4 separate regions of the Homo sapiens genome follow, and all the other regions are linked to region 3. The links are contacts of gene promoters, found by promoter capture Hi-C in human tissues and cell types (Jung and others, 2019). All regions are on one chromosome and are shown on one strand. The core of a region is centred on a gene start or on the middle of the fragment in contact, and the rest is flanking DNA. Distances in the headings are between cores, read along the strand shown. Region 1 overlaps N4BP1 (NEDD4 binding protein 1). Region 2 has its middle 92 kb from the start of N4BP1. Region 3 holds the start of LONP2 (lon peptidase 2, peroxisomal). Region 4 overlaps N4BP1 (NEDD4 binding protein 1).

The links. The method cuts DNA at HindIII sites, captures the fragments that hold promoters and counts their contacts. A contact is called where the count stands out against the background at its distance.
Region 1: a fragment that was not itself captured here is called in contact with the fragment with the promoter of LONP2 in region 3 in 2 of the 25 tissues and cell types used here (dorsolateral prefrontal cortex and lymphoblastoid cells).
Region 2: a fragment that was not itself captured here is called in contact with the fragment with the promoter of LONP2 in region 3 in 2 of the 25 tissues and cell types used here (dorsolateral prefrontal cortex and neural progenitor cells).
Region 4: a contact is called between a fragment that was not itself captured here and the fragment with the promoter of LONP2 in region 3, in 5 of the 25 tissues and cell types used here (dorsolateral prefrontal cortex, liver, lymphoblastoid cells and 2 more).

What each region holds. Positions count from the first base shown.
Region 1 is chr16:48,589,921-48,594,643 of GRCh38, reverse strand. The region is part of intron 1 of N4BP1 (NEDD4 binding protein 1); the gene reads left to right. Among named protein-coding and RNA genes, the nearest start is that of N4BP1, 18 kb to the left of the region's middle. The HindIII fragment of the contact is 4,938 bases long and covers 148-4,723 here.
Region 2 is chr16:48,515,432-48,520,101 of GRCh38, reverse strand. No RefSeq gene overlaps it. Among named protein-coding and RNA genes, the nearest start is that of N4BP1, 92 kb to the left of the region's middle. The HindIII fragment of the contact is 4,119 bases long and covers 5-4,123 here.
Region 3 is chr16:48,242,256-48,247,103 of GRCh38, reverse strand. LONP2 (lon peptidase 2, peroxisomal) reads right to left here and starts at 2,804. Exons shown (of 15, transcript NM_031490.5): 1 at 2,483-2,804. The coding sequence starts at 2,715. All of the region lies in intron 1 of ABCC11 (ATP binding cassette subfamily C member 11), which reads left to right. RefSeq lists an enhancer at 2,779-2,868. The HindIII fragment of the contact is 28,002 bases long and covers 1-4,848 here.
Region 4 is chr16:48,559,846-48,564,575 of GRCh38, reverse strand. It overlaps N4BP1 (NEDD4 binding protein 1), which reads left to right. Exons shown (of 7, transcript NM_153029.4): 2 at 2,132-3,822. Among named protein-coding and RNA genes, the nearest start is that of N4BP1, 48 kb to the left of the region's middle. The HindIII fragment of the contact is 5,231 bases long and covers 377-4,730 here.

The sequences.
Region 1 (4,723 bases), core at 1,367-3,866, 350 kb before region 3:
TGGCTCACACCTATAATCCCAGCACTTTGGGAGGTCGAGGTGGGCAGATCACTTGAGGCCAGGAGTTCAAGACCAGGCTGGCCAACATGGTGAAACCCCGTCTCTACCAAAAAATACAAAAATTAGCTGGGTGTAGTGGCGTACACCTATAATCCCAGCCACTTGGGAAGCTGAGGCATGAGACTTGCTTGAACTCATGAGGCAGAGGTTGCAGTGAGCCAAGATTGTGCCACTGCACTCCAGCCTGGGCAACAGAGCAAGACCTTGTCTCAAAAAAGCAACACTGGATATTCACAAAGTAGAATCCCAGGTCACCATAAGTCATTCATTTAACCAAAATGATAACCCACAAATTTTAAAACAGGAAAAACCTTTACTGTGGTAGAAAGGAGACTCAGCTTTCCAAACAACAAGATCCAGTGAAGATAGCATGATGCCAACTGATTTGTCTTTTCTCTCAACACCACCCCCTCCGCCACCTTTTTTGTAGTTTACTTAAAAGGCAAATGAAAACCTTTCGTTATCTTTTAATATTACATGAAAATTCTTTTCAAAAGAGAAAACCAAATTTAATGTTTGCATTAGTGCATCTTTAAAATGCTAAAGCTAGGTGGTTTTTTTTTTGTTTTTTTTTTTTTTTTTGAGACGGAGTCTTGCTCTGGCACCCAGGCTGGAGTGCAGTGGCATGATCTCGGCTCACTGCAACCTCCGCCTACTGGTTTCAAGCAACTCTTTTGTCTCAGCCTCCTGAGTAGCTGGCACTACAGGCACCCGCCAACACACCCGGCTAATTTTTAGTAGAGACACTATTTCACCATATTGGTCAGGCTAGTCTCAAACTCCTAACCTCAGGTGATCCGCCTGCCTCGGCTTCCCAAAGTGCTGGAATTACAGGTGTGAGCCACCACGTCCAGCCTAAATTTAGTTTAATAGCATTTTACAAATCTATTCAGTTTTAGTTAGTTTGACCATAAGGTAAGATTCTTATAAACCTTTTATAACCCTTTACAATATTTTTTTTGTTAAAGAGCAGAACAATGATTTAGGAAAACTCTGTTGCACTTTTATTCCAATGTTCAATTTATGGAAAAACAGAATAATACCTCTTTAACTTTAGCCAATATGTTTGCACACATTAATTTTTTATAAACCTTTCACAACTTGTTTAAACCTTTAGATTTTTTCCTTCCTCACTTAACACAATCCTTTAACCCTCTAAACTTAGGTGAGAAATTCATATTCCCATGCCTTCTTAAAATCTTTTACCAAAAGTACATTCTGCTTTCCTTACACACTTTGTGTGTAGAACTGTTTCTTCAGTAGTCTCAAATACATGTTACACTGTTAACTCTTAGCAACTTTTACTTTCGGTGAAAAACCTGGTTAGTAAGCAATTGTAATTATGTACCAGGTGTGGAGCCTAGAACAGACACCAGTCAGAAGTGCAGATAAGGTCTGACTTTCCAGCATAGCCAGGGGACTTGGCTGACTCCACATGTCCCCAGGCCTTACCTAGCTGTAAAGCAGGCAGGTTGTGAAGTCATAGTGGCAGTTTATGAAATATTTAGGGGACCTAATAATCTTTAAATTGTATAACATTTCTTGCATAAATTTCCTTTCATGAATCCTTTCATGACTTAGACCATCTATGACATGCTTGGACTTTCTGACTTGTCCTAACCACCCCTCTCTTTAAACAACCAGTCTTTTTACTTTAGGACAAGAATTTACCATACAAGATTCTTTTGTATAAAATATTTTCTTTATGGGGGCTAATTTCACATGTCCCCAGACCTTACCTAGAATGTAATGGCTCCAAGGGAGGTATATTGAAGAATTTTCAAAAGTTAAAGAAGCAGTTTATGACCTTAGAGCATTTAGCAAACCTAATATTTGACCTAATTTAGATGAAATGTCTAAATTTGGAAGATATTTTTATTTACCAGTAATCTTTAAAACTGTTTATTACCAAAAGATTACGAAAGTTATATGAACTAAACTAGCTCATTAGTTTTAGTTTTTCTGACAAAATATCTGATTTAAGTGCTTATTTTTCTTTAAGCTAGTTAATTAGAGCTCTTTTATATAAACATCACACACAACACATACACAGACAGAATATCCAGTAGTTGTAACATTTTTCATTTGCCAGTTTCTTAAGTTGGATTACTGGCTTCAGGGCAGAGCCCTTCACGAAACAAGGCTAGGAAAGCATGCAGTTACTAGGGCCTAAAAAGCAGGCACAGCTGGAAAGCAAAGACATTCTCAAAATTAAGGGTCCCATTTTTATATTGCATCCTGGATTTTCAAAAGGGAAATGCTGTTGGAGAAAACGGTGCAATGCTTTTACCATGCATTTAATTGCCTGGCAACCCAAACCCAGTCAGCCGATTTTGTTTTTGTTTCTGTTCTGGGGGGATGGAATCTTGCCCTGTCACCCAGGCTAGATTGCAGTGGTGTGACCTTGGCTCATTGCAACCTCCACCTCCTGGCAATCAGCCCATTTTGTAATTAGCCCATCCCCCATGGGAATCTCATCTCTCAGTAGAGTGTGGGGATTTTTCCTCCTTACCTTCCAGGTGGCCAAGAGCATGCTTCTTTGATTAAAGCGTGCAGTGAGCCAAGTATCCCTCTGTAACTGTTATTAGCCATCCCTTAAAGTACATTTTGTACCTAATTTTTGCACACCAAGGCTAACAGCTCTCCCATAATGCAGAGTAATTTCTGATACCCCCAAAACTTGGAAAAAAAAAAAAACGTCAGGTAACATAATGTAAAGCTGAACAGAGCCTTAGATTTTGAGAGCGATCTATCCACTTTCAACTCCTGGGGTTCCATGAGGAAAACAGGTTTTTTTTTTTTCCAAAGTGGAAGCTGTTAGAAATTATCTTAAGTTCTCTCATGTGGGCATCAGGAGGGCAAAGTAGAGAAATAATTCAGTTGACTGAGAAGAAAAACAAAAACTTTTTCACAAAAACAACCAATATCCAAGAAGAAAAAAAAAAAAAAAACCAAGGCCTTTTAAAATAATAGAGCTTGGATATCCATTTTTAATTAAGTTGATTTTAACCATAGAGCTCTTTTTAAATTTTTTTTTAAAAATCTCTTATTATCAGACTCTAGCCAGGACAGTCAATATTTCTGGCTTTTGAACTTTGCCACAGGTAACTTCCCATGTGAAATTAATAAGTTTTAGCTAAGGTTACAGCTTAACCATGGACCCATAAGGTGTTTCAAAGAGATGGTAAGCAGCTTCTTTTTACAAGATTTAGAATCTTCCCAAGGGCAGTTTGGAGAAAGAAAAATTCAAGACAGGAAATCGGAAGCTAGCCATTGGGGTGGGGGTGGGACCCTCAAAAAGTGGGAAAGTTAAGTAACAAACCAGAAAGGAATCATTTCCGAAGCCAAGAATTCAACCTGGGCTGCCACTGTCAAAAGACAAAAAGCCTTGTCTACTGAGTTACAACATTCAGCAGGTTCTATTGCTCTTCCCAGAAGGTGCTTAGAGGAGCCAATTTCAAGCTTGCAAAGGCTTTTAATTGCTCAAGATAATTTTTGACTTTTGTCAGCAGTTCCTTCAGAGATCCCCACCATATACAGAAACACACAAAGACAAGACAGACAGAAGAGCTTCCAAATCAAGATCCCTAACCAATAATTTCAGAGTACCCCTTCCAAACTATCCTCCTATTCTCTGCCTGAGAAATCTCCCCTAAATCTTCTGGATTGAGGAGAAGTCTTCCTAACTAAGACTCTTCCTACTAATTAAGGAGAGCCAACTGAGACCCCAAAGGAGCCGAACCAAGACAGACACTCGGTGATGGAGCTGCAGACACATACCACACCATGGGGCTATGGAACCATTTGGGAGAAGGAAGGAGCTGTGGCAGCGCCTAGGATACTCACTGAGCCAGACACCCTGTGATAGGGGAACAGTTATTGGACATCTGCCCAGGATTGTTTCTCCATTGCAATTAAATTCATGCACATTGGGTTGGCAGTGCCCTGTCGGTAGAGACAGTGTCAGAGTCAGCCACCAATCCAAGAGAACTAGGCAGCCGCTTGGGCTGGCCTCTGGATCCATTGCCAGAGGGGTGCTACCAAACCACAGGCAGGTAGCCACAAGAGCAATCCTGGACAAGCCTCCAAATTTGTAACCAACCAACAGGTTCACCTTGCCCTCTGCCTAGACAGAGCCAATTTATCAAGACAGGGGAACTGCAGTGGAGAAAGAGTAATTCACACACAGCTGGCTGTGTGGGAGACTAGAGTTTTATTATTACTCAAAACCCTCTCCCCCAGCGTTCAGGGATCAGTTTTTAAAGATAATTTGGCAGGTAGGGGCTTGGGAAGTGGGGAGTGCTGATTGGTCAGGTTGGAGATGGAATCATGGGGGTCAAAGTGAGGTTTTCTTGCTGTCTTCTGTTCCTGGGTGGGATGGCAGAATTGGTTGAGCCAGAATATGGATCTGGGTGGTGTCAGCTGATTCATTGAGTGCAGAGTCTGCAAAATATTTCAACCACTAATTTTAGGTTTTACAATAGTGATGTTATCCCCAGGAGCAATTTGGGGAGGTTCAGACTCTTGGAGCCAGAAGCTATATGACTCCTAAACCATCATTTCTAATCTTGTAGCTAATTTGTTAGTCCTTCAAAGGCAGACTGGTCCCCAAGCAAGAAGGGGGTCTTTCCGAGAAAGGGCTGTTACCAGTTTTGTTTCAGAG
Region 2 (4,670 bases), core at 815-3,314, 270 kb before region 3:
ACCCAAAGTCCTGGGATCAAGCAATCCTCCTGCCTCAGCCTCCCTAGTAGTTGGGACTATTGGCATGCACTACCAGGCCCAGCATTTAAAAAATTTTTAAATTAGTAAATGTTATTTCTTAGAACAGTTTTGGGTTCACAGAAAAATCGAATGGAAAGTACAGAGAGTTCCCATATACACCCTGTTCCCACACATGCCCAGCAGCCTCCCTCACCATCAACATCCCCCAACAGATTGGTACATTCATTAAAAGTGATGAACCTGCCTCCACACACCATCACCCAAAGTTCATAGTTTGCATGAGAATTCATTCTGGGTATTGTGCATTCTATGGGTTTTGACAAATGTATAATGCCACGTGTCCACTACTGCAGTACCACACATTAGAGGAGTTGCCCTGCCCCAAACGTCCTCTGTGCTCCCCCTGTTCATCTTTCCCTCCCCTTAACTTCTAGCAACCACTGATCTTTTTTTTTTTTTTTTTTTTTTTTTTTTTTTGGAGACGGAGTCTCGCTCTGTTGTATAGGCTAGAGTGCAGTGGTGTGATCTCGGCTCATTGCTACCTCTGCCTCCTGGGTTCAAGCGATTCTCCTGCCTCAGCCTCCCAAATAGCTGGGACTACAGGCAAACGCTGCCACACCTGGCTAATTTTTTATATTTTAGTAGAGATAGGGTTTCACCATGTTGACCAGGCTGGTCTCGAACTCCTGAGCTCAGGCAAACTCCTGAGCTCAGGCAATCTCCTGAGCTCAGGCAATCCGCCAGCCTCGGCCTCCCAAAGTGCTAGAATTACAGGCATGAGCCACCACACCCGGCTGCAACCACTGATCTTTTTATTGCTCCCATAGGTTTGCCTTTTCCAGAATGTCATATAGTTGGAATCATACAGTAAGTAGCCTTTTCAGATTGGCTTCTTTCACCTAATAATGTTCATTTAAATTTCTTCCATGTCTCTCTGTGGGTTCATAGCTAATTTCTTTTTAATGTTGAATAATACTCCATTGTTTGAATGTACCAAAGTTTATTTATCCATTCACTACTGAAGGACATCTTGGTTGCTTCCAAATTTTGACAGTTATAAATAAAGCTGCTACAAACATCTGTGTGCAGCTTTTTTTGCTTTTTTGAGACAGGGTCTCACACTGTCACCCAGGCTGGAGTGCAGTGGTGCAATCATGGCTCACTGCAGCCTTGACCTCTCAGGCTCAAGCGATCTTCTCACCTCAGCCTTTTGAGTACTTGAAACTACAGGTGCACGCCACCACACCCAGCTAATTTTTCAACTTTTTTGTAGAGATGCGGTTGAGCTGTTTTGCCCAGGCTGGTCTCGAACTCCTGGGCTCAAGCAATCCTCTCGCCTTGGCCTCCCAAAGTGCTGGGATTACAGGCCTGAGCCACTGCACCTGGCCTATTGCAGCATTTCGTGTGGGCATAAGTTTTCAGCTCCTTTGGGTAAATACCCAGGAGTGCAATTGCTAGACCAAATGGTGAGATGATGTTTAGTGTTATAAAAACCTGCCAAAATGTCTTCCAAAATGGCTGTACCATTTTACATTCCCACCAGGAGTGAATGAGAGTTTCTGTTGTTCCACATCCTCATCAGCATTTAGTGTTGTTTGTGTTCTGGATTTTGGCCATTCTAATAGGTTCATAGTGGTATCTCATTGTTTTAATTTGCATTTCCCTGATGACATATGATGTGGAGCATCTTTTCATATGCTATTTGCTGTCTGTATGTCTCCTTTTGTGAAGTATCTGATAAGGCCATTGGCCCATTCTTAAATAGCATTATTCATTGTCTTATTGTTGGGTTTCAAGAGTTCTTTGTATATTTGGATAATAGTCCTTCATCAGATATGTTTTTTGCAAGTATTTTCTCCCAGTCTCTGGCTTGTCTTGTCATTGTCTTGACATTGTCTTTCATGGAGCAGAAGTTTTTAAATTTAAATCAAGTCCAGCTTATCAATTATTTATTTCATGGATCAGGTCTTTGGTGTTGCATCTAAAAATTCATTGCCATACTCAAGGCCATCAAGGTTCTCTCCTATGTCATCTTCTAGGAGTTTTATAGTTTTGCATTTGTACATTTAGGTCTATGATCCATTTTGAGTTAATTTTTATGAAGAGTATAAGTTCTGTGTCTAGATTTTTTTTTTTTTTTTGAGACAGGGTCTCACTCTGTCACCCAGATGGTAGTAGTACAGTGGCACAATCACAGCACACTGCAGCCTTGACCTCTTGGGCTCAACCAATCCTCCTGCCTCAGCCTCCCGAGTAGCTGGGACCACAGGTATGCACCACCACAACTGGTTACTTTTTCTATTTTTTTTGTACAGACAAGATCTCACTATATTGCCCAAGCTTGTCTTGAACTCCTGGGCTCAAGGGATCCTCTTGCCCCAGCATCCCAAAGTGCTGGGATTACAGGTATGAGTCACTGCACCCAGCCTAGATTCATTTTTTGACATGTGGATGTTCAGTTATTCCAGCACCATTTGTTGAAAAGACTATCTTTGCTCCATTGCAGCTTGGCAGATTATATGTTTCAAGGAATGGGTGTATTTTATCTAGATCATAAAATTGGTGGGCATAGAATTGTTCATAATATTATTTTTTATTCTTTTAACTCATGAATTTATTCTTTTAATTCATCTGTAGTGAATTACAGTTCTGATATTAGTCATTTGTGTCTGCTCTCTTTTCCTAGTCTGGCTAGAGGCTTATGAATTTTATCGGTCTTGCAAAGACCCACCCTTTAGTTTCATTGATTTTCTCTATTGATTTCCTATTTTCAATTTCATTGAGTTTTACTTTGGTTTTTATTATTTCTTTTCTTCTGTTTTGTGTAAATTTAATTTGTGTAAATTAATTACACAAATTACACAAATTTGTGTAAATTAATTACACAAATAATTGTGTAAAATTGCTTTGTGTAAATTAATTTTTTTTTCTAGTTTCCTAAAGGGGAAGCTTAAATTGTTGATTTTAGATCTCTATTTTTTTGATACATACATTCAATATTATCAATTTCTCTCTAAACACTACTTTCGCTACATCACACAATTTTGATTAGTTGTGTTCTCATTTTCACTTAGTTCAAAATATTTTTAAATTTTTCTTGAGAGTTCTTTTTTGACCTTTGTGTTATGCAGAAGTGTGTTGTTTAATCCCCAAGTATTTGGGAATTTTCTAGCTATCTTTCTCTTACTGATTTCTAGTTTAATTCCACTGTGGTCTGAGGCCAGACATTGGATGGTTTCTATTCTTTTAAATGTATTAAGATTTTTTTTGTTTTTATTTATTTATTTTTTTTGAGACGGAGTCTTGCTCTGTCGCCCAGGCTGGAGTGCAGTGGTGCAATCTCGGCTCACCACAACCTCTGCCTCCCGGGTTCAAGCGATTCTCCTGCCTCACCCTCCGAAGTAGCTGGGACTACAGGTGCGTGCCACCATGCATGGCTAATTTTTGCATTTTTAGGAGAGACAGGGTTTCATTATGTTGGCCAAGCTGGTCTCAAATTCCTGACCTGGTGATCTGCCTGCCTCAGCCTCCCAAAGTGCTGGGATTACAGGTGTGAGCCATCACACCTGGCCTTAAGGTGTTTTTTATGGCCCTGAATGTGGTCTGTCTTGGTGAATATTCCATATGAGCTTCAGAAGAATGTGTAATCTGCTGTCACTGGGTGAGGCCATTTATAGATCAATATACCAGCTGTTAATGGTACTATTGAGTTCTGCCTGCTGGATCTGTCCATTTCTGTTAAAGGGGTGTTAAAATCTCCAACTTATTTATTTATTTATTTATTTATTTATTTAGACGGAGTCTTGCTCTGTCACCCAGGCTGGAGTGCAGTGGTGCGATCTTGGCTCACTGCAACCTCTGCGTCCCGGGTTCAAGTGATTCTCCTGCCTCAGCCTCCTGAGTAGCTGGGATTACAGGCGCGTACAACAACACCCAGCTAATTTTTGTACTTTTAGTAGAGACAGGGTTTCACCATGTTGGCCAGGCTGGTCTCAAACTCCTGACCTCAGGTGAACTGCCCTCCTCAGCCTCTCAAAGTGCTGGGATTACAGGTGTGAGCCACTGCACCCAGCCAAAATCTCCAACTTTAAAAGTGGGTTCGTTATTTCTTCTCGAAGGTCTGTCAGTTTTTGCCTCTCAGGCACCGATGCTCTGTTGTTAGGCGTGTACATATTAAGTATTGTTGCCTTGGAGAACTGAGCCCTCCCTCATTCTGTAATGCCTTCTTTATTCCTGATCACTTTCCTTGCTGAAGTCAGCTCTGTCTGAAATTAATAGAACTACTGCTTTCTTATGATGTGCATTGGCATGGAATATCTTTCTTTATCTCTTTACTTTTAAAGTATATGTGTTTTTATATTTAAAGTGGGTTTTTTGTAGACAACTTACAGTTGAATCTTATTTTTTGATATACTGTGACAATCTCTGTCCTTAATTGGTACATTTAGAGCACTGGCTTTCAAAGTAATTGTTGATGTAATTGGATTATTATCCACCATATTTTAAAATGTGCTGCCCTTATTCTTTGTTCCTATTTTTGTCTTTTACTCTGTCTCTGCCTTTTGTGGTTTTAATTAGGCATTTTGTAGGATACCATTTTCTCTCCTTGCTTAGTATATTACTTCTACTTCAAAACTTGGTTGCCTTAA
Region 3 (4,848 bases), core at 1,555-4,054:
GATAACTAGATGGTCTGATGAGTTCTTATAATGCCGGACTTCTATGAAGACTTTTCAATATATGTTTTCTAATTTAAATGATTAAATTTTAACATTGCTACTCAGTTAAAGGCAATAATATGAACATCAAGGATCAGATCACACAGTACCTGATTATTAGTGATTACTTTCAAGCAGGAGAATTGAGGATTGTTGCTTTGGAGGGATTTTCATAAAATAAATTAAAAACCTGAAGGGTATGGTGGCGCTTGCCTATAGTCCCAGCTACTCCAGAGGCCAAAGCAGGGGATAGCTTGAGTCCAGGAGTTTGAGACCAGCCTAAGCAACATAGTGAGACCCCATTTCTACAAAAAATTTAAAAATTAGCTGGGTGTAGTGGTGCACGCCTATAGTCCCAGCCACTCCAGAAGCTGAGGCAGGACGATCACTTGAGCCCAGGAGTTCAATCAAGGTTGCGGTGGGCTACGATCACGCCACTGCACTTCAGCGGAGGAGACAGAATGAGACTCTGTCTCAAAAAATACACAAATGAATAAATAATAAAAACCTTCCAAAATCTTGCCAGAATAATACCAACAAATAGTGAAACTTAAAATGTGACTAAATCGACTTTTCAAGTTCACAATGTGCCCATGGCTAATCAATACATATGCACAGTAGAAAGAAAATGAAGTCTAATAATGACCACTCTTGCCTAGACAGGGAACTAAGTGTGCCTGGGCACAGAAGGCAAAATAATTTGGGAAAAGTAAGCAGAAGGAGCAGAGTCGTATGTTGGGAAACTAGAATCCAATACAATTTATCAAAGAGTACTGAAACTTGGAATGTGACCAATTCCACTCAGGCAATAACCAAAGCAGGTCAGATGGGAGCCAAAATATTTTCCATGCTTGAGAAAATCAAGGCTTTTACAATATAAATGAATACTGGGCTGCTGTGGAAGGTTTGTTGGTCTTTGTTGCTTTGTTTTGCTTTCTTTTAACGGGGGTGGGGGGAGGTACCAGTCTCCTTTGAGAATCTGAAGAAAGCAAAGGATTCTCCTAAAAAAATGTACATAGTCACAAGATTTTGAGGAAAAATAAGACATGTCCAACCCTCCGGAAATCCATTCAGAGTCAGGAACCCCTAATTTAAAAATAAGGGATAACTGCCAGGAAAGGAGAAGCTCTAAACTGAAAACACAACACCTCCAGTAGAGTTAGGAATAGGAGGCGGGTGCTTGGCAGGTGAGTTTGAAGATACTTGTTGAGAGCATACGATATACCAGCATTGTCCAATAAAAATATAATGTGGACCACATATAAAATTTTAGTGGCCACATTATAAAGTAAAAACAGCAGAAATCTTAACATTTTATTAACCCCAAGTACTCAAAATATTACCTTTCCAACATTTAATCCATATAAAATGTATTAATCAAAAAGTTTTTTCAAAATCTGGCGTGTATTGTACACTTACAGCACATTTAGGGTGACCAACCTCCTGGTTTCCCTGGGACGGAGGGGCTAAAACATAGGACTTTCAATGCTAAAACAGACAATCGCAGCAAACCAGGACAACTGGCAATTCTATCATCTCAATTTGACGAGCCACATGCACTACACAGTACTGGACAGCAAAGTCATCCATCATGCATGGTGCAAAGTGGAATATACACATTATTCAATTTATTCTTCATAACTTGCCTAAGAGATGGATGCTGTCAGTTTCCAAATTGCAGAATAAAAGAAATAGAGGTTAAAGCTCTCACCCAAAGTCACACCAATAGGGCGAGGGTACTGGGCAATATAGTAGTAAGCCTGGGGCCTAAGAAATGTTATGAGTGAAGGAGCAGAGGTGAGAAGCTAGGAAAGTTCCAGAAAGGGGGACCAGCGAAAATGTGAGCAGTAAAGGCCCTTTACAAAGGGAAACAGAAGGATTAGGGGGAGAAGGAGAAGGGTGGCAGGGAGTATAGAAGAAAGGCACCCACAAATAGTGCAGTTTAGGAATGAAACAGGAAAAGTTAAAACTCACGGAGCAGAGAATGCCTCAGCGGACAAAAATGATGGGTGACAGAAAAGGGGAGGCGGATAGGAGTAAAGGGCAGTGGGGAGAAAGGTGAAAAGCGAAGGCAAGTGAAGGCAGAGATCACCGGGGAGAAAGAAAGGGCCTGGAAAGTTAAAAGCACTGGCCTAGGAGGCTGAAGACCGAGGGCGAGGAATTGCGGAGAGGGGGAAGAGGATTCAAATTAAATTATCCAGAACGGTAGGGAACTGCGTAGTTTCACCAGGTGTCAGGCACTACTTCATGAACGATCTCATTCATGGTCATGGGGCAGGTATCTGACATCCCCATTTTGCAAGTGATAGCACCAGAGAGGCGGAACCGAGCCGCGAAGGCCGCCCCGAACTGAGCCTCGCGCTCAAGGCAGGCCGTGGCCTGGGCCCAGGTCCCCGGAGGAGGCCGCGCCGCCCGCCGCCGCCGCGGGGGCAGCCAGGCCTACCTGTGCAGCGGCGGCAGGTCCTGCGCGTCGCTGGCGGGGTCAGGCGTGTTGGGGATGACGCCCAGGATGGTGCTTTGCAGCGACGTGCCCTTCAGAAGGCGGCTCCGCACCAGCTGCAGGTTGCGGGCCGAGTCCACGCTGGTGCGCATGGTGGAGCCGGGCAGCAGGACGCCCTCGTGGGTGAGCAGCAGCGGGAGGCGACTGGGGATCTGGATGGGGCTCACTGATGACATGCTGGCAGCCTTTCGCACTGGGGGCTGTCAAAAAGAGCCAGACAGACAGCTGCCCCCGGCCTGCCCCGCAGTCACCAAACCTCAGACCCGCCTCCACGCCTCCGCTTCCGGCTACGCGCTACGGTCCGTCCCCGGGCCCAAAAGCCATGGCTTCGCGCTGCTCTCTAGGAGAGCCTCCCGGTAAGACTTGAGCGTCCTACCTATGCGGAAAGACGTGCACTCAAGCGTGCAGCGACCTTCGCCTCACTTACAGAGTATATTTGGAAGGATGATCTTATTTGAATTGTATATACTTGAAGTGTTTTTAACGTTTTCTTCGATTTTTTACATATACTTGAAGTGTTTTTAACTTTTGATTCGAACTAATTATTTATTTATTTATTTATTTATTTATTCTGAGACAGATTCTCGCTCTGTCGCGGAGGCTGGAGTGCAATGGCGCGATACCCACGGCTTGCAGCCTCTGCCTCCCGGGTTCAAGCGATTCTCCTGCCTCAGCCTCCCGAGTAGCTGGGATTACAGATGCCCGCCACCACACCCAGCTAATTGTTGTATTTTTAGTAGGGAGGGGATTTCACCATGTTGGCCAGGCTGGTCTTTAACTCCTGACCTCAAGCGATCCGTCCACCTCGGCCTCCCAAAGTGCTGGGATTACAGGCGTGAGCCAACGTGCCCGGCCCGAATTGATTTTAGATGTACAAAACTACAGCAGAGTTCCTATATACCTTTCACCCAGTTTCGTCTGTTATCATCTTACATAATCATAGTTCAATGATCAAAACCAGGAAATTAACATTATTATCGTTTAACCTATAGGCCTTACCCAAATTTTGCCAGTTTTCCCACTAATGTCCTTCATTGGATCTGGTCCAGGATCCAATATCCAGGATCCTGTTGTGAAATCTCCTAGGTGTTTTGTTATGAAATCTCCTAGGTGTTCTCTAATCTGTGGCAAGTCCTCAATTTTTTTTTTTTTTTTTTTTTTTTGAGACGGAGTCTCGCTCTGTCACCCAGGCTGGAGTGTAGTGGCGAGATCTCGGCTCACTGCAAGCTCCGCCTCCCGGGTTCATGCCATTCTCCTGCTTCAGCCTCCCGAGTAGCTGGGGACTACAGGCACCCGCAACCACGCCCGGCTAATTTTTTGTATTTTTAGTAGAGACGGGGTTTCGCCATGTTAGCCAGGATGGTCTCAATCTCCTGACCTCGTGATCTGCCCGCCTTGGCCTCCCAAAAGTGCTGGGATTACAGGCCTGAGCCACTGCGCCCGTCCAATTTTTTTTTTTTTTACAACCTTGATACTTTTATTTTTTTTCTGTTTTTAATTTAATTTTATTTTTTATTATAGTTTAAGTTCTAGGGTACATGTGCACAACGTACAGGTTTGTTACATATGTATACATGTGCCATGTTGGTTTGCTGCACTCACTAACTCGTCATTTACATTAGGTATATCTCCTAATGGTATCCCTTCCCCCCCACTCCCCACCACCCAACGACAGGCCCCTGAGTGTGATGTTCCCCACCCTGTGTCCAAGTGTTCTCATTGTTCAGTTGCCACCTATGAGTGAGAACTTGCAGTGTTTTGTTTTCGGTCTTTGCGATAGTTTGCTCAGAATGATGGTTTCCAGCATCATCCATGTCCCTACAAAGGACATGAACTCATCCTTTTTTATGGCTGCATAGTATTCCATGGTGTATATGTGCCACATTTTCTTAATCCAGTCTATCATTGATGGACATTTGGGTTGGTTCCAAGTCTTTGCTATTGCGAATAGTGCCGCAGTAAGCATACGTGTGTGTGTGTCTTTATAGCAGCATGATTTATAATCCTTTGGGTATATACCCAGCAATGGGATGGCTGGGTCAAATGGTATTTCTAGTTCCAGATCCTTGAGGAATTGCCACACTGTCTTCCACAATGGTTGAACTAGTTTACAGTCCCACCAACAGTGTAAAAGTGTTCCTATTTCTCCACATCCTCTCCAGCACCTGTTGTTTCCTGACTTTTTAATGATTGCCATTCTAACTGGTGTGAGATGGTATCTCATTGTGGTTTTGATTTGCATTTCTCTGATGGCCACTGATGATGAGCATTTTTTCATGTGTCTGTTGGCTGCATAAATGTCTTCTTTT
Region 4 (4,730 bases), core at 1,743-4,242, 320 kb before region 3:
ATTATAGAGTTACAGTAATCAAAACGGTGTGGTCTTGATGAAGGGATAGATTTACACAGATTGGAACAGAATAGGGAACTCACAAGTAGTTCCACACAAGTATGGCAAAGTGATTTTTTGACAAAAGTGCAATTCAGTAGTGAAAGAATAGCCTTTTCAAGAAATGGTGCTAGAGCAATATTATACCTATAGGCAAAAATGTGAAGCTCAAGCTAACCCTCACACCTTCTTTTAAAATGTACTAAAAATGGATCATAGGTTTAAATGTAAAACTTAGACGATAACATTGGAGAGGTCTTCAGTACCCCAGGCTTGGTGAAGAATAAAATCTAAAAACCGAACTTCCTTAAAAGTAAAAACTTGCTGTCACAAAACACCCTGTTAAGAGGATGGGAAGACAAACTACAGACCAGGAGAAAATATCTGCAAGCCACATATTTGACAAAAGACTCTTAGGATATATAAAGAGCTCTCAAAACTCAACAGTAAAAAAACAATTAGAAAATAGAAGGCTACTAGAGACTAGGAAGGATAGGGAGAGATTTGTTAATAGATACAAAATTACAGCTCCCTGGGGAGAATAAATTCTAGTGTTCCATATCACTGTAGAATGACTACAGTTAACAATAATATATAGTTTCAAATAGCTAGAAGGAGGATATAGAGTGCTCCCAACACAGAGAAATGCTAAATGTTTGAAATGGATATGCTAATTACCCTGTTCTGATCACTATACATTATTATATGTATTGAGACTTCCCTGTGTAACCCATGAATATATACAATCAGCCAGGCACAGTGGCTCACGCCAGCATTCACTTGTTCTATTAGATCTGCATTTAATTTAACAGTCTGATTTTCTTTAGAAAACAGACAAAAAAATCATAGGATATAGACTGTTTCAATCAGTAGCAACTAATTGTAATCCCAGCAATTTGGGAGGTGGAGGCAGGGGGATCACCTGAGGTCAGGAGTTCAAGACCAGCTTGGCCAACATGGTGAAACCCCATCTAGCGTACAAAATTAGCCAGGTGTCGTGGCACATGCCTGTAATCCCAGCTACTTGGGAGGCTGAGGCAGAAGAGTCGCTTGAACCTGGGAGATCGCGCCATTCCACTCCAGCCTGGGTGACTAGAACAAAACTCCATCTCAAAAAAAAAAAATTATATATATATATACAATCATTATTTGTCAATTAAAAATTTAAAAAATTTTTTTTTAGAGATAGGGTCCCGCTCTTTGGCCCAGGCTGGAATGCAGTGACATGATCTCAGCTTACTGCAGCCTCAGTCTCCTGGGCTGAAGCGATCCTCCCATCTCAGCCTCCCAAGTAGCTGGAACTATAGGCACACACCACCATTCCCAGCTTATTTTTTGTAGAAATGGGGTTTCACCATGTTGCCCAGGCTAAATTAAAAGAAAACTTTTTTTTTTAAATTTTTTATTTCAATACCAACATCTGAGAACACCAATACTGTCCAGCATTCACTTGTTCTGTTAGATCTGCATTTAATTTAACAGTCTGGTTTTCTTTAGAAAACAGACAGAAAATCATACAGGATATAGATTGTTTCAACCAGCTGGAAAAAAATTTTTTATTAATGTTATTCTTGCTTCTTAATAAACTTGCTTTTGCTTTGAAAAAAAAAATTAATGTTATTCTTTTATACCTTCAAGAAATCTGGAAACCAAGGGTAATAGTAGCAAAAGTCAAGATTTGTTCTGTAGTCAATCACTTGATTTGATTATCTTATCTCTTGATTATGTCATGGAAGTAATAAATTACTGGTAGCAAGCAAAGATGTCTTTTCATTAGAGATGTAAATAAATCCAGCCTTGGGATTATTCACTGTGTAGCTCAGCAAATCCCTAAGATCACATTGCATAAAATGTTACAAAATACCCACCTTTTAGATTTGGATGCAGAGTTTTCAGTTCCTCTAAAGATGGTTTAAGCAAGTTATATCTGTTATTTTCAATGTTTTATTTAAAACATGACATTTTGTTCAAAATTACAAACATGCTTGTGATTTTTATAAAATCGGCCTGACATTTGTAGTTACATGGTAATTTATTATGTGCTATAAGGAACTTTTGTAAATTGACCTAATTTCTTATTTTCTCTTTACAGGAATATATTAAAGGAATCTGTGAACCTGAACTAGAAGAAAGAGAATGTTACCCCAAGGACATGCACTGCATTTTTGTTGGGGCAGAGAGCCTGTTTCTGAAAAGCTTGATTCAGGATACTTGTGCTGACCTCTGCATTCTGGACATTGGCCTTCTTGGCATCAGAGGAAGTGCTGAGGCTGTGGTCATGGCTAGGAGTCACATTCAACAATTTGTAAAGCTCTTTGAAAATAAAGAGAACCTACCCAGTAGTCAGAAAGAATCAGAGGTGAAAAGGGAATTCAAACAATTTGTTGAAGCCCATGCAGACAATTACACAATGGATTTGTTGATTTTGCCCACTTCCTTGAAAAAAGAACTTTTGACACTCACACAAGGTGAGGAGAATCTCTTTGAAACAGGAGATGATGAGGTTATTGAAATGAGAGATTCTCAACAAACAGAGTTTACACAGAATGCTGCCACAGGGCTGAATATTTCTAGAGATGAAACTGTTTTGCAGGAAGAGGCAAGAAATAAAGCTGGGACTCCTGTTTCTGAGCTTACAAAACAAATGGACACAGTCCTTTCTAGCTCACCAGATGTGCTTTTTGATCCAATAAATGGTCTAACCCCAGATGAAGAGGCACTTTCCAATGAGAGAATTTGTCAGAAAAGGAGATTTTCTGATTCTGAAGAAAGGCATACGAAGAAGCAGTTTTCTTTGGAAAATGTTCAGGAGGGGGAGATTTTACACGATGCTAAGACATTGGCTGGAAATGTAATAGCTGACCTATCTGATTCTTCTGCTGATTCTGAAAATTTAAGTCCAGATATAAAAGAAACTACTGAGGAAATGGAATACAACATCCTCGTAAACTTTTTTAAAACCATGGGCTACTCCCAAGAAATTGTTGAAAAGGTCATTAAGGTGTATGGACCATCTACTGAACCATTATTGCTCTTAGAGGAAATTGAAAAAGAAAATAAAAGATTCCAAGAAGACAGAGAATTTTCAGCTGGTACAGTGTATCCAGAGACCAACAAAACCAAAAATAAAGGTGTTTATAGCAGCACAAATGAGCTTACAACTGATTCCACTCCAAAGAAAACACAGGCTCACACACAGCAAAATATGGTAGAAAAATTTTCTCAGTTACCATTCAAAGTGGAAGCTAAACCATGTACCTCAAATTGTAGAATTAATACTTTCAGAACAGTGCCAATAGAACAGAAACATGAAGTCTGGGGTTCAAACCAGAACTACATTTGTAACACAGACCCTGAAACTGATGGCCTTTCACCTTCTGTTGCCTCTCCAAGTCCCAAAGAAGTCAATTTTGTTTCAAGGGGAGCTTCAAGTCACCAGCCCAGAGTTCCACTTTTTCCTGAAAATGGTTTACACCAGCAGCCAGAACCCTTGCTTCCAAATAATATGAAATCTGCCTGTGAAAAACGTTTAGGATGTTGTAGTTCTCCTCATTCTAAGCCAAATTGCTCAACCCTTTCTCCACCAATGCCACTGCCCCAGCTGTTACCTTCGGTTACTGATGCAAGGTCGGCAGGACCTTCTGATCATATTGATTCCTCAGTTACTGGGGTTCAAAGGTTTCGAGATACTCTAAAAATACCCTACAAGCTGGAATTAAAAAATGAACCAGGGAGAACGGATTTGAAACACATTGTTATAGATGGGAGCAATGTTGCAATTACGTAAGTCCATTCTCTGCAGATTATTTTATTTTAAATAGGGCTCTAAATGGTGTCTCAGAATCACATGTATATGGGAACTATACATACATGTTGTATATAGTTGATCTGTAGCCTTAGGGTCGGATGGTGGAGGGGAATGGGAACCAACTGGTTGGAAAGGTTTTGTCAGTCCATCTTCTGGATTCATGAACTTTACTTCACCCTGCTGAACTTAATTTCTAAGGGCAAGAGAGGATAGAAAATTATCTTTTCACGTTGCATTGCTCAGTGATATGTAGTATAGTGACTTTTAAGTCATTAAATTCTTAATATTGTGAGTACCATTATGTTCTAATCTAAATAAGAGAACACAGCTTAAAGCAAAAGGATTTTTTTTTATCTTATTATGCTGGAGTATGCCTGATCTCTAGCCAAGAGTGTGCAGTGGTAACAGGTGTGATGTATTTCTGTGGATAGAGCAATGGCAATTTCCTTTCAAAAGTAGTCACTTTGAGCTTCACTGTGGGCCTCTGCTCTTACTAAAAGTTTATAATATTTGTTTTTAGTAAAAGACATCATTTAATGAACCTGTTGTTTCTAGTTAGCCTGTCTTGGAACTCCTCTTAGTTGAAAATCCTCTGATTTGAAACCTGTACGCTTGGGTTTTTTTTCTAAGGGGCAGTTTAAGATCGTGGCTAAGGAGAGTGTGAGGGTCAAGAGCCTCCCTGCACTGTGGACCAGCTGTTTGATTTGGGGCAGGTCACTTAACTGTTCGGAGTTTCAGTTGCTGCAATCTGTTGCCTTCTGACCTGTCCTTAAGGACATCTTTACCATATCATTTCAACAACTATGTAAAGTCTGCCTTCAGTTTTCAAAACCAGTCACCCCATTGTTAAAAGAAAAACTTAGGGCAAATTACATTTAGCAGA